Regions from separate parts of the Homo sapiens genome. Here region 2 is linked to region 1. The links are contacts of gene promoters, found by promoter capture Hi-C in blood cells and fetal thymus (Javierre and others, 2016). All regions are on one chromosome and are shown on one strand. Each heading gives the region's core, a stretch centred on a gene start or on the middle of the fragment in contact. The rest is flanking DNA. Distances are from core to core; before and after follow the strand shown.

The links. Contacts are between HindIII fragments. The CHiCAGO score rates a contact against its expected background, and 5 or more counts as called.
Region 2: a fragment that was not itself captured here is called in contact with the fragment with the promoter of POU5F1B in region 1 in 1 of 17 cell types (M1 macrophages); the score reaches 6.8 in M1 macrophages.

What each region holds. Positions count from the first base shown.
Region 1 is chr8:127,412,351-127,417,215 of GRCh38, reverse strand. It overlaps POU5F1B (POU class 5 homeobox 1B), which reads right to left and starts at 1,349. Exons shown (of 1, transcript NM_001159542.3): 1 at 270-1,349. The coding sequence starts at 1,349. The coding sequence ends at 270. All of the region lies in intron 5 of CASC8 (cancer susceptibility 8), which reads left to right. The HindIII fragment of the contact is 3,513 bases long and covers 1,242-4,754 here.
Region 2 is chr8:126,872,489-126,877,304 of GRCh38, reverse strand. All of the region lies in intron 3 of LOC105375751 (a long non-coding RNA gene), which reads right to left. Among named protein-coding and RNA genes, the nearest start is that of PCAT1, 140 kb to the left of the region's middle. The HindIII fragment of the contact is 2,694 bases long and covers 97-2,790 here.

The DNA.
Region 1 (4,865 bases), core at 100-2,599:
CTTTCTTTTTTTTTTTTTTTTACTGTGTCCCAGGCTTCTTTATTTAAGAAAAAAGTGATACATGATGTGGGATTAAAATCAAGAGCATCATTGAACTTCACCTTCCCTCCAACCAGTTGCCCCAAACTCCCCTGCCCCCACCCTTAGTGTTCCCAATTCCTTCCTTAGTGAATGAAGAACTTAATCCCAAAAGCCCTGCCACAAACTCCAGGTTCTCTTTCCCTAGCTCCTCCCCTCCCCTGTTCCCCATTCCTAGAAGGGCAGGCACCTCAGTTTGAATGCATGGGAGAGCCCAGAGTGATGACGGAGACTGGGGGAAAGACTTCCCCCTCAGGGAAAGGGACTGAGGAGTACAGTGCAGTGAAGTGAGGGCTCCCATAGCCTGGGGTACCAAAATGGGGCCCTGGGGCCGGAGGAAAGGACACTGGTCCCCCTGAGAAAGGAGACCCAGCAGCCTCAAAATCCTCTCGTTGTGCATAGTCGCTGCTTGATCGCTTGCCCTTCTGGCGCCGGTTACAGAACCACACTCGGACCACATCCTTCTCGAGCCCAAGCTGCTGGGCGATGTGGCTGATCTGCAGTGTGGGTTTCGGGCACTGCAGGAACAAATTCTCCAGGTTGCCTCTCACTCGGTTCTCGATACTGGTTCGCTTTCTCTTTCGGGCCTGCATGAGGGTTTCTGCTTTGCATATCTCCTGAAGATTTTCATTGTTGTCAGCTTCCTCCACCCACTTCTGCAGCAAGGGCCGCAGCTTACACATGTTCTTGAAGCTAAGCTGCAGAGCCTCAAAGCGGCAGATGGTCTTTTGGCTGAACACCTTCCCAAATAGAACCCCCAGGATGAGCCCCACATCGGCCTGTGTATATCCCAGGGTGATCCTCTTCTGCTTCAGGAGCTTGGCAAATTGCTCGAGTTCTTTCTGCAGAGCTTTGATGTCCTGGGACTTCTCCGGGTTTTGCTCTAGCTTCTCCTTCTCCAGCTTCACGGCACCAGGGGGGACGGTGCAGGGTTCCGGGGAGGCCCCATTGGAGTTGCTCTCCACCCCGACTCCTGCTTCGCTCTCAGGCTGAGAGGTCTCCAAGCCGCCTTGGGGCACTAGCCCCACTCCAACCTGAGGCCCACAGTACGCCATCCCCCCACATAACTCATACGGCGGGGGGCAAGGGGGAATCCCCCACACCTCAGAGCCTGGCCCAACCCCCGGCCCGATTCCTGGCCCTCCAGGAGGGCCTTGGAAGCTTAGCCAGGTCAGAGGATCAACCCAGCCCGGCTCCGCCCCCCATGGCCCATCACCCCCACCGCCTGGAGGGGGCGAGAAGGCGAAATCCGAAGCCAGGTGTCCCGCCATGGGGAAGGAAGGCGCCCCAAGCCGGGGGCCTGGTGAAATGAGCAATTATGTTACTTTTCATTGAAAGCTCTGTGACCGTATGGCTGTGTGTGTCATACGCTCACTAGCAATGAACACAGTGCCTGAAGCATCATTAAATGTTGACTGAATGTGTTAGGAACTCTTCAAAAGTAATCTCTTTAAATCATAATCACCTGTGAATTGACAATTATTATCTTCACTTTGTGGATAAGAATGCCAAGATTTGGAAATGTTGAATAATGTGTCCATTGTGTCAGTGGCCGATCTGAAATTCCAGTGTAGGCACCATGATTCCTGAGTCCATTCTGCTTCTGCCATACCATGATGCTAGATTCTTCATGGGAGCCATCTACTTGTGTTCTGTGCTATGGAATGGTGTGTCCTTCTTTCTGATTCTTATTTCCTGCAGATTGTGGGGAAACGGTTCTACCATTAACAACCAAAGGCAAAATGGGCTGCAACCAAAGAAATTCCCTGACCTAATTCTTTATAGTTGGTGACAAGTGTGCTGTAGTGACGGGAAATAGCACTCTATGAAGATTTAATAGTGCAAATTCTACCCTCCTGACAACCCCTTTCTTCAGCACTGGATGGGTGTATTAGTTGTTTATCATTGTGTAATAGATCACCTCAAAACTTAATAGCTTAAAAACAACTAACACATAGCTCACAGTTTTGTAAAATAGCAATTGTGGTGTGGCTTAACTGGGTATCCTGGATAAGGGTATTTCATGAGGTTGTGGTCAAGATGAGAGCAGGGGATGTTGTCATCTGGGAGCCTAACGGGGGCTGGAGGATCCACTTTCCAAAATGTCTCACTTACTTGGCTGTTGGCAAAGGCCCCGGTTTCTTGTTGGCTGTTGGTAGGAGGCCTCAGTTGCTCACCATGTGGGCTTTTCCATAAAGCTGCTTGAGTGTCCTCACAACATGTCAGCTGGATTCACCCAGAGAGAATGACCTAAGAAAGAGAGAGCAGGGAAGAAGCCACTGCGTTCTTTATGACCTAGTCTCTGAAATCGCACACTTTTACTTGTGCCATATTTTATTCATTAGAAGTGAGTCACATTCTGTAGGAGGGTAATTAGCCTTCACCATTTGGCAGGAGGACTATCAAATAATTGGTGGGCATATTGTAAAGCTATCATAATGGTTCTGGTAGGCCATGTTTTTGCCTCTGCCACTCAAATATTGGATGTCCATTTCTTAAAGGGATTGTGAAAAGAGAAGGGGCTTTAGAATAAGACAGGCAAATGTTTAAACATTGAGTAAATTTTTAATGTCCTTAACCCTTGTTTCTCAACCATAAAATGAGAATGATCATATCAAATCTTCACAGTTTTGCAGGATGGGTTGCAGGTAATAAAGTCCTAGTGCAATGTCTGGCACAAGGTAAGTGTTTAAGCAGTGGGCTCCTTTCTGTTACATAATGTGGCAACCCTCTTCTCCCCTCTCTACCTCTCAAATATGTGTCTGAGTCAGAACACCAAAGTCACACACACACAGGTACAAAACAATTCCTGATTCTATTCCATTTCCATCATGCCATGCTGCCAGTTTCTCCATGGGGCCATCTTTACTTCTGTAGTAAGGAATATAGTTACTTGTTACAGAAATTAGATTCCAGAATTGGGATATGAGTTGGAAAGGGAACTTAAACGTTCTCCTTCAGTCTTGCTCAAATTCTCATGCTTATTTGACGTTCTTGAGTGTTTCCAATAAGATAGATATGACTTTACCTCTAGATTCTCCCACTTGTTATCCTGCCAACCTTAAGTCCCCTTTCTCAGGGTAATAACTTTCTGCTCAATTCTGTTGTGAGGTTTAAGTCAAGTAAGATGTGTGTAATTTTCTCATGAAACAGTAGCTATTATTTATTGTTTATCATTTTATCATTAACTTCTGTTCCTTTAGACCTGACTAAAATATTTCTAGTGTCATTTGAAAATATTGTATTATATCGGGTGTTGTGTGTGTGTGTGTGTGTGTGTACCACCTTTTTTTAAGAAGCACAAAATGTGTTTGACCAGTTACTTAGATTATTTATTTCTCACAAAATGAAGTCAAGTCCATATTGTCTCATTTAGCAGAAAAGTGAAATAGAAGGTTAATAGGTTGGCCTAAGCCTCACAGCTGGTAAGTATAGCTACCTAGATTTGAACCATGAAAATCGTTTGAGGTGATGCTCTGCTTTATTTAATCTGTTCAGACAATGGCATTGTGGTTTCATGGGGAGACAGGCTAGATTTTGTGACCTGAACGTCTACTCGTTTGACTATGTAGTACAACTAAAAATTGTGAATCCGCTAACTAAGTCTTTGTGTTTAATTTAGTTTAGTGCAATAATAATTTCTAGGGATATCACAGGCCAGGCACTGGGATAGATAATGAGGTACAGCTAGGTGAAGGGGGCAGGATGGAAATGCTGAGGTACAGAAGGGTCATAAAGCCCATTGTAATGTTCCATTTTTGTCTCTAGATAATGACAAGCAGACAGTAACACACTGGTAGCAAACATTGAAGACTGGTGGCCCAGGGGCTCTGATGTTGATGAAATTCCTGATGAAATTGAGTTTGGTAATTATACAGTTGACCTGCTTGAAAGAAAGATATCACAGTAGAACAATTTCCTTGGTTCTGCCATTTCATTTATCACCATTGTTTGTCTTTGTTGTCAGTATTAACATCAATTATTAATCTTAATGCTCATTTTCCTTCCTAGCCTTCTTTCCTGTCTGACATGTGGAATCTCTTGCTATTAAATTGAGAGGCAGGTGGAAACATTAGTCCTTCTTACGTCATTGGTCATTATTTCTTCTGAACGAAGAGTTTTTTTCAGTGGGGGCAGGACAATTGGAAAAATCCATTCCAAGTGGCATAAAGACTGGTTTCTTTGCTCTGTACAAAGTATCCCAGTATCACTTAAGTAGCTATTTCTCTGAGGTTGGACCTCAACTAGAACCATGATGGTTGGATGCAGAGAAACTGGCAAATAGGTTAAATTGAAAGCAGGTAGAAATCACAACACTTGGGATGGCAAAAACAGCTAGCTGCCTCCCAAGATCTGCTCTCCCTTTCTGTCTTAGTAACCTAACCTCATTTTATATAAGATAGCAGGCCATCCAGCTAAAAGACTATATTTACTAGTCTTCCATGGCACTAAGTTGTGACCAATGAGAATCAGCAAAAATACAGCGTGAAACTTTTGGGGAGGCTGTTTAAAGGAAGCTGAGTTAACAGGAACTCTCCCTTCCTCTTCAGGCCATTGCCCTTTTCCTTCTAGCCTACAACATGGATGTAATGGTAGCACTCCAGAAGCCATCTTGAACTGTAAGTCAACATTAGGCAGAAGCTGCAAGCGAGATGGTGAGGCAGAATGAAGAAGCTTGGACCCCTGATGACCATTATATCATGCTCAGACTTCCCACCTCTGATCTTCTAGTATGAGAGAGATATTTATATACCCAAGTTATTTAAATCATTGATTTTTTTTAGAGT
Region 2 (4,816 bases), core at 194-2,693, 540 kb after region 1:
GAACTACAGTTCCTCTCACAAGAGGTGAGACGGCTTTGCAATTGAAAGAGAGCAACCAACCTGGAGCAATTATGTTTTCATTATTATTCCCAAGCTTCTCTGTCACAAATCACATTTTCCAACCCGGGGCACGTTGGTGCAGAGCTGCCGATTGCAGTTCCCATCATTCCACCAGCTGACTGCTCCAGCCTGGCCCTGGAAGCGGCAAGCCGGTGGCTCATTAACTGCAATACCTGTGCACAGATTGCAAACCCGGCAGAGCAGATGCTGCATACTTCAGGAAATTCTCCCCTATTTGAAAATGACTACGAAGTACTTTTTACTATCAAACCCTTGTTGGGATTTTTCTAGAAAGAAGACCGTGAAGCCCTTGTAGATTTTCCTGTCGACTTGCATTACAGAGCAGCTGAGAGTGCTAAGTCTGGGCATGGCCTTGACTTGCAGGCACAAACACAAACACACCCCGGCGCCCCTGGCTTTAAAACTGGGGATTTAAAGCGCTAGACTTGAGAGCGCAGAAGTACGGCAATGCTCATGCCGCCATCATGTGGCTAGAGGAGGAACCGCACCAGGAACAGAATGGACCAATTCGGCCAGGCTGCCTGCACCCCCTCCTTCCTACTTTCCTCCCTCCCTTCCTTTGAAACAGCTGCTGAAGAAGACTAGTCAATTAAAAAAAAAAGAAAGAAAGAAAGAAAAGAAAGGTGGAAGAGAAATAATTGAGTTAGGTACCACTGTTTGCACACCCCGTTCCTGGGGCTTTATAAAAGCCCTGCGTGGTAAGGCAAATAGCCGTCAAATGAATTTGAGTGGGAATTCAAAGCACTCTTGATTTCTCTTGGTTAATATACGTTAGCTGAATTCAGTGTCGAAATTGAGCAGCTCATATTTAAAAGGAGATGATTCCCGCAGAACTTTATGGACTTTACATATAGAGGACACAGAACAAATTAAACTTTTGCTTATTGCTTTGAACAAAAATTAGTGTTTTATAAAAAGAGAGGGAGGGAGACTTAAAACTATGCCCTCATTCATTATTCTGTTCGGTTGTCTATCTTTTAGTTCTTAATTTGTAGAAACTCCTTGCATCCTGGGGATAATATCCTCTTGTGCATCATATGAGTTGCAAATACTTTCTAATAATTACCTGGCTTATTTCTTTATGGGATCTCTTTCCAATTTTAAAAATTATTAATTTTTTAATGTAACTGAAGCTGCTAATAGTTTGTCTTTTATAGCTTCTGTGTTTTCTATCTTGCTTAGAAAGCTGCCTCCACCTCAAAGTATAGTCTTTAATACTATTTTTAATAATGATTTTATGTTTATGTTTAGTTCATATGGATTTATTTTTATACTCCATTTAAGCTAGCTTTTCACCCAAATGTGGAATCAATTGTCTCTGTACCATTAAGAAAATAACAATCTGTCATTTCCCCACTGAAGTGGCACATTTATTATCGAGTAAGTGCCTATATGTAGCGGGATCCTATCTGTTCTGCCAACATACCGTATTTATACTCACTACCACACTGTTTTAATCTGGTAGGATAAGCCCCTACCCGCTTCCTATTTTTCTTTTATAAAATATTCTTAGCCATTCTCGAACATTGGTTCCTCCATCATATGGGTATGCGTGGTCTGATTTGTTATAACAACCTTGCATTATTTTTGTTAATAAAAGGTCTTCAGTTGTTTTTTTGTTTTTGTTTTTGTTTTGAGACGGAGTCTCGCTCTGTCGCCCAGGCTGGAGTGCAGTGGCACGATCTCGGCTCACTGCAAGCTCCGCCTCCCGAGTTCATGCCACTCTCCTGCTTCAGTCTCCCGAGTAGCTGGGACTACAGGCACCTGCCACTGCCCCCAGCTGTTTTTGTATTTTTAGCAGAGACGGGTTTCACCGTAGTCTCGATCTCCTGACCTCGTGATCCACCCGCCTGGGTCTCCCAAAGTGCTGGGATTACAGGCGTGAGCCACCGCCCCCGGCCCAGTTCTATATCTTCTGCAGAGCTTACATTGTTTCTCTGGAGACTTGGTGAAGGACAGACACCTCACATCCCCGTTCCTGCTGTGGGAAAGGCTAAGCGTTCTCTCTCAACCTGCTAGAGGGACTCTGATTGGTTCATACAGAGTCTTAGAGAGTTGAAACACGGCTGCCAGACGTCCACCCCTATTAATGAGCAGTTAATTGGAGGTGGTTGTGAGATAAGCAGAGATCCCAAAAGGTGTTTACTATGTTCCTTAATTTGAAATTTATTCAAAAATCACGAGCTGATGGCTCTTTATATACTAAGGCCTCGGACCAGGGAATCAAAAGTAAATCAGATACAGGCCTTGCATTCAGAGAGCTCATGAACTAGAAGTGCTATGCATGTGTGAAAACAAAATTAGCACCCTTCCAGGCAAAGAAAGTAGACTGGAAATGTACACAGTACTGTAGCAGCCTCCAGAGAGGGGCAGTGAAGCCGGGTGAGGCAAGGATGTCATTAAGGAGTGAGGACTGTGTGAGGGCCATGTAGCAAACCATCCCTTCCTCCACAGGGGAATCAGCCTCATTTCAGTGGTAGAAAGGAGTGCGATTGTTCTGTTGTGTGCATATGTGTTTGTATGTGTGTATGTGCACATGTGTGCGAGTTGACCTGGTTCTCCTGAGCAGGAATCTAGCCAAAGGGTGCAGAGGCTGCAGACTTAGGTAGCAGGGAGGGATGAAAGGCTCAGGGAGGAAGCGGCTCAGATATATCTTGTTCTTCTTCCCTGACCTCAAGCTATAAAACAGGCAAACACTTCAGGCAAGCTTTCCGAAAAGACAAAGTTCTCACTGTCCCAGGAAACGAGAGCTTAGACCCTGAATAAAGACTCCACTTCATACCGTACCACCTTCTCCCACCTCTCTCAACACACAAATGCTGTTTGTTTAAAAGTTTATCTCAACTGGAGGCTTTAAGGAAGGGCCCCTGGACATGGCCTTAGATCCTGTGTTATGCTTCAGCTGTTTTTTTAATGTTTGTCTGTTCACACAGATGAAGTCACGAAGATCACAATCTAAGGCAAAATGATATTTTCTGCAGTCATTATTGTTCTTGGAAACAGAAGAGCCGAGTGTGAGAGAATGTGAGGGCTGGAAGGGACCAAGGCAGCCTCCAGTGCCCCACTGGGCTTAATCCCCAAGGGAAATGAGGCCAGGAGCGGTGACATGACTTGTCCCAGTTCACGCAGCTAGTTCCTTCTGCACAGATGTATCTAAAGGACACTTCTCTAGGGGTGCTTCACCGTCACATCATTGTGCAATTAAATGGGGGGACCTCCTTTTAATAGAATACATTATTTCTCTTCTTCCAAACATAAGGGTCAGGGTTTTGTACAATTTGTATGTGAAAGTGTGCAATATAAAATTCCATTTAGGAGAGTGGAATGCTTCCAAAGGACAAACGATAAATGAGATGGGCTCTTCCACCCCCAGGTCCCACCAAAAAAGGCTTCAAACAAGGGAAGGTTAATTAGGTAGGGAACTTCTCCACAAAGACAGATTTTCCCTAAATACCGCTGTCCACCTGCTTACTCCTCTCCATAGAGGGCCTTCGAGGTCATCTCACTGTAAAGTTTAGGATGAAGATAAGCATTCTACAGTGCTCCTCTTTATAGGCCATAATGGCTTGCAGAGAGCACCTGTGTTCTCTACCAGTAGGTAAAGGTCCTACCTCAAGGAGAAAGATATTTATCGTGGTTTTGTCTTGTTTTGATTTTTTCAGCCCTTTCAGTGACTGGGCAGAAAAGCCAGACTAATTCTGGGGACTCTTGGAAAGCCCACTGTAGTTTTGCTTTGTAGTGTTTGTCAGTAATAGAGCTGGCATTCTATCCTCCAACTATCAGCCCCGTTGCATCTCTTGGTCGATTCAGAGCTCTGGCATGGAAAGAGGTGAAGGGGTGTGTCGTGTTCACTCTTAAACCCTTTTCACCGTAGAATGCCAGTATGCATTAGCAGTAGCTAATTTAAAGACTGAGTTGCTTCCGCACTGCTTCTGCATATGTTGCCAAGTTGATCTAACAATTTTATGTGAAATGTAAAGTTTTTTCTTTATCATAATTACGTTTCACAACTCAATGCTTTTTTCCTATACTTTGTGTTTTGGACAGAAGCAGGGCAGAATATATGACTGAAGTGAACTCCACTCGACCTTCAAATCCAACCCCTCCGAAGAGAATATTCCAAGAATCAAGCAAAACCTGGGAGGTCAAGGATGTTTCATCTGCGTTTCCCCATTCTCTTAGATTGTCTCTTCTTTCCTCAAGTCTCATAGAATCTGAGAGTTAGAAGGTTCTCAAAGGTCATCTCAAGCACAATGCTTTGTGAAATTTGAAGTCCAGCTACAATATGCCCAATAAGCATTTATCCAGACTCAAGAGTCCCCATTGCTGGAGAATTGGAATTTAATAATACCAAACATAGCCCAATCCATTTTGGAACAAATCTACTTGTGAGGAAGTTATTTTATTGTTGTTTGTTTTACAGCATGCTGTAGGTGGTCTCTTTGAATTCCATCTAAATACAACTTTTTGTAGTACAGTACTGCAAATCATCTATTCTAAAGATGCATATGTGTTTACACTGTATCTGTGAACATTCATAACAATTGAAGACACTTCTGATTGTGCTTGGCTGGGCAGCAGACACGACGTTGTTGCTTATGCATGTGTGAGACAGGCTGTTTCAGGTAGTGTGATAAAAATTCTCTCAATATTTCAGTCAAACTATTTAAGAGTCTTTGGAATAAGGAATATAAGCCTTCTATGTCTTAAAAAAAATTTATGGAGATTTTTTGAA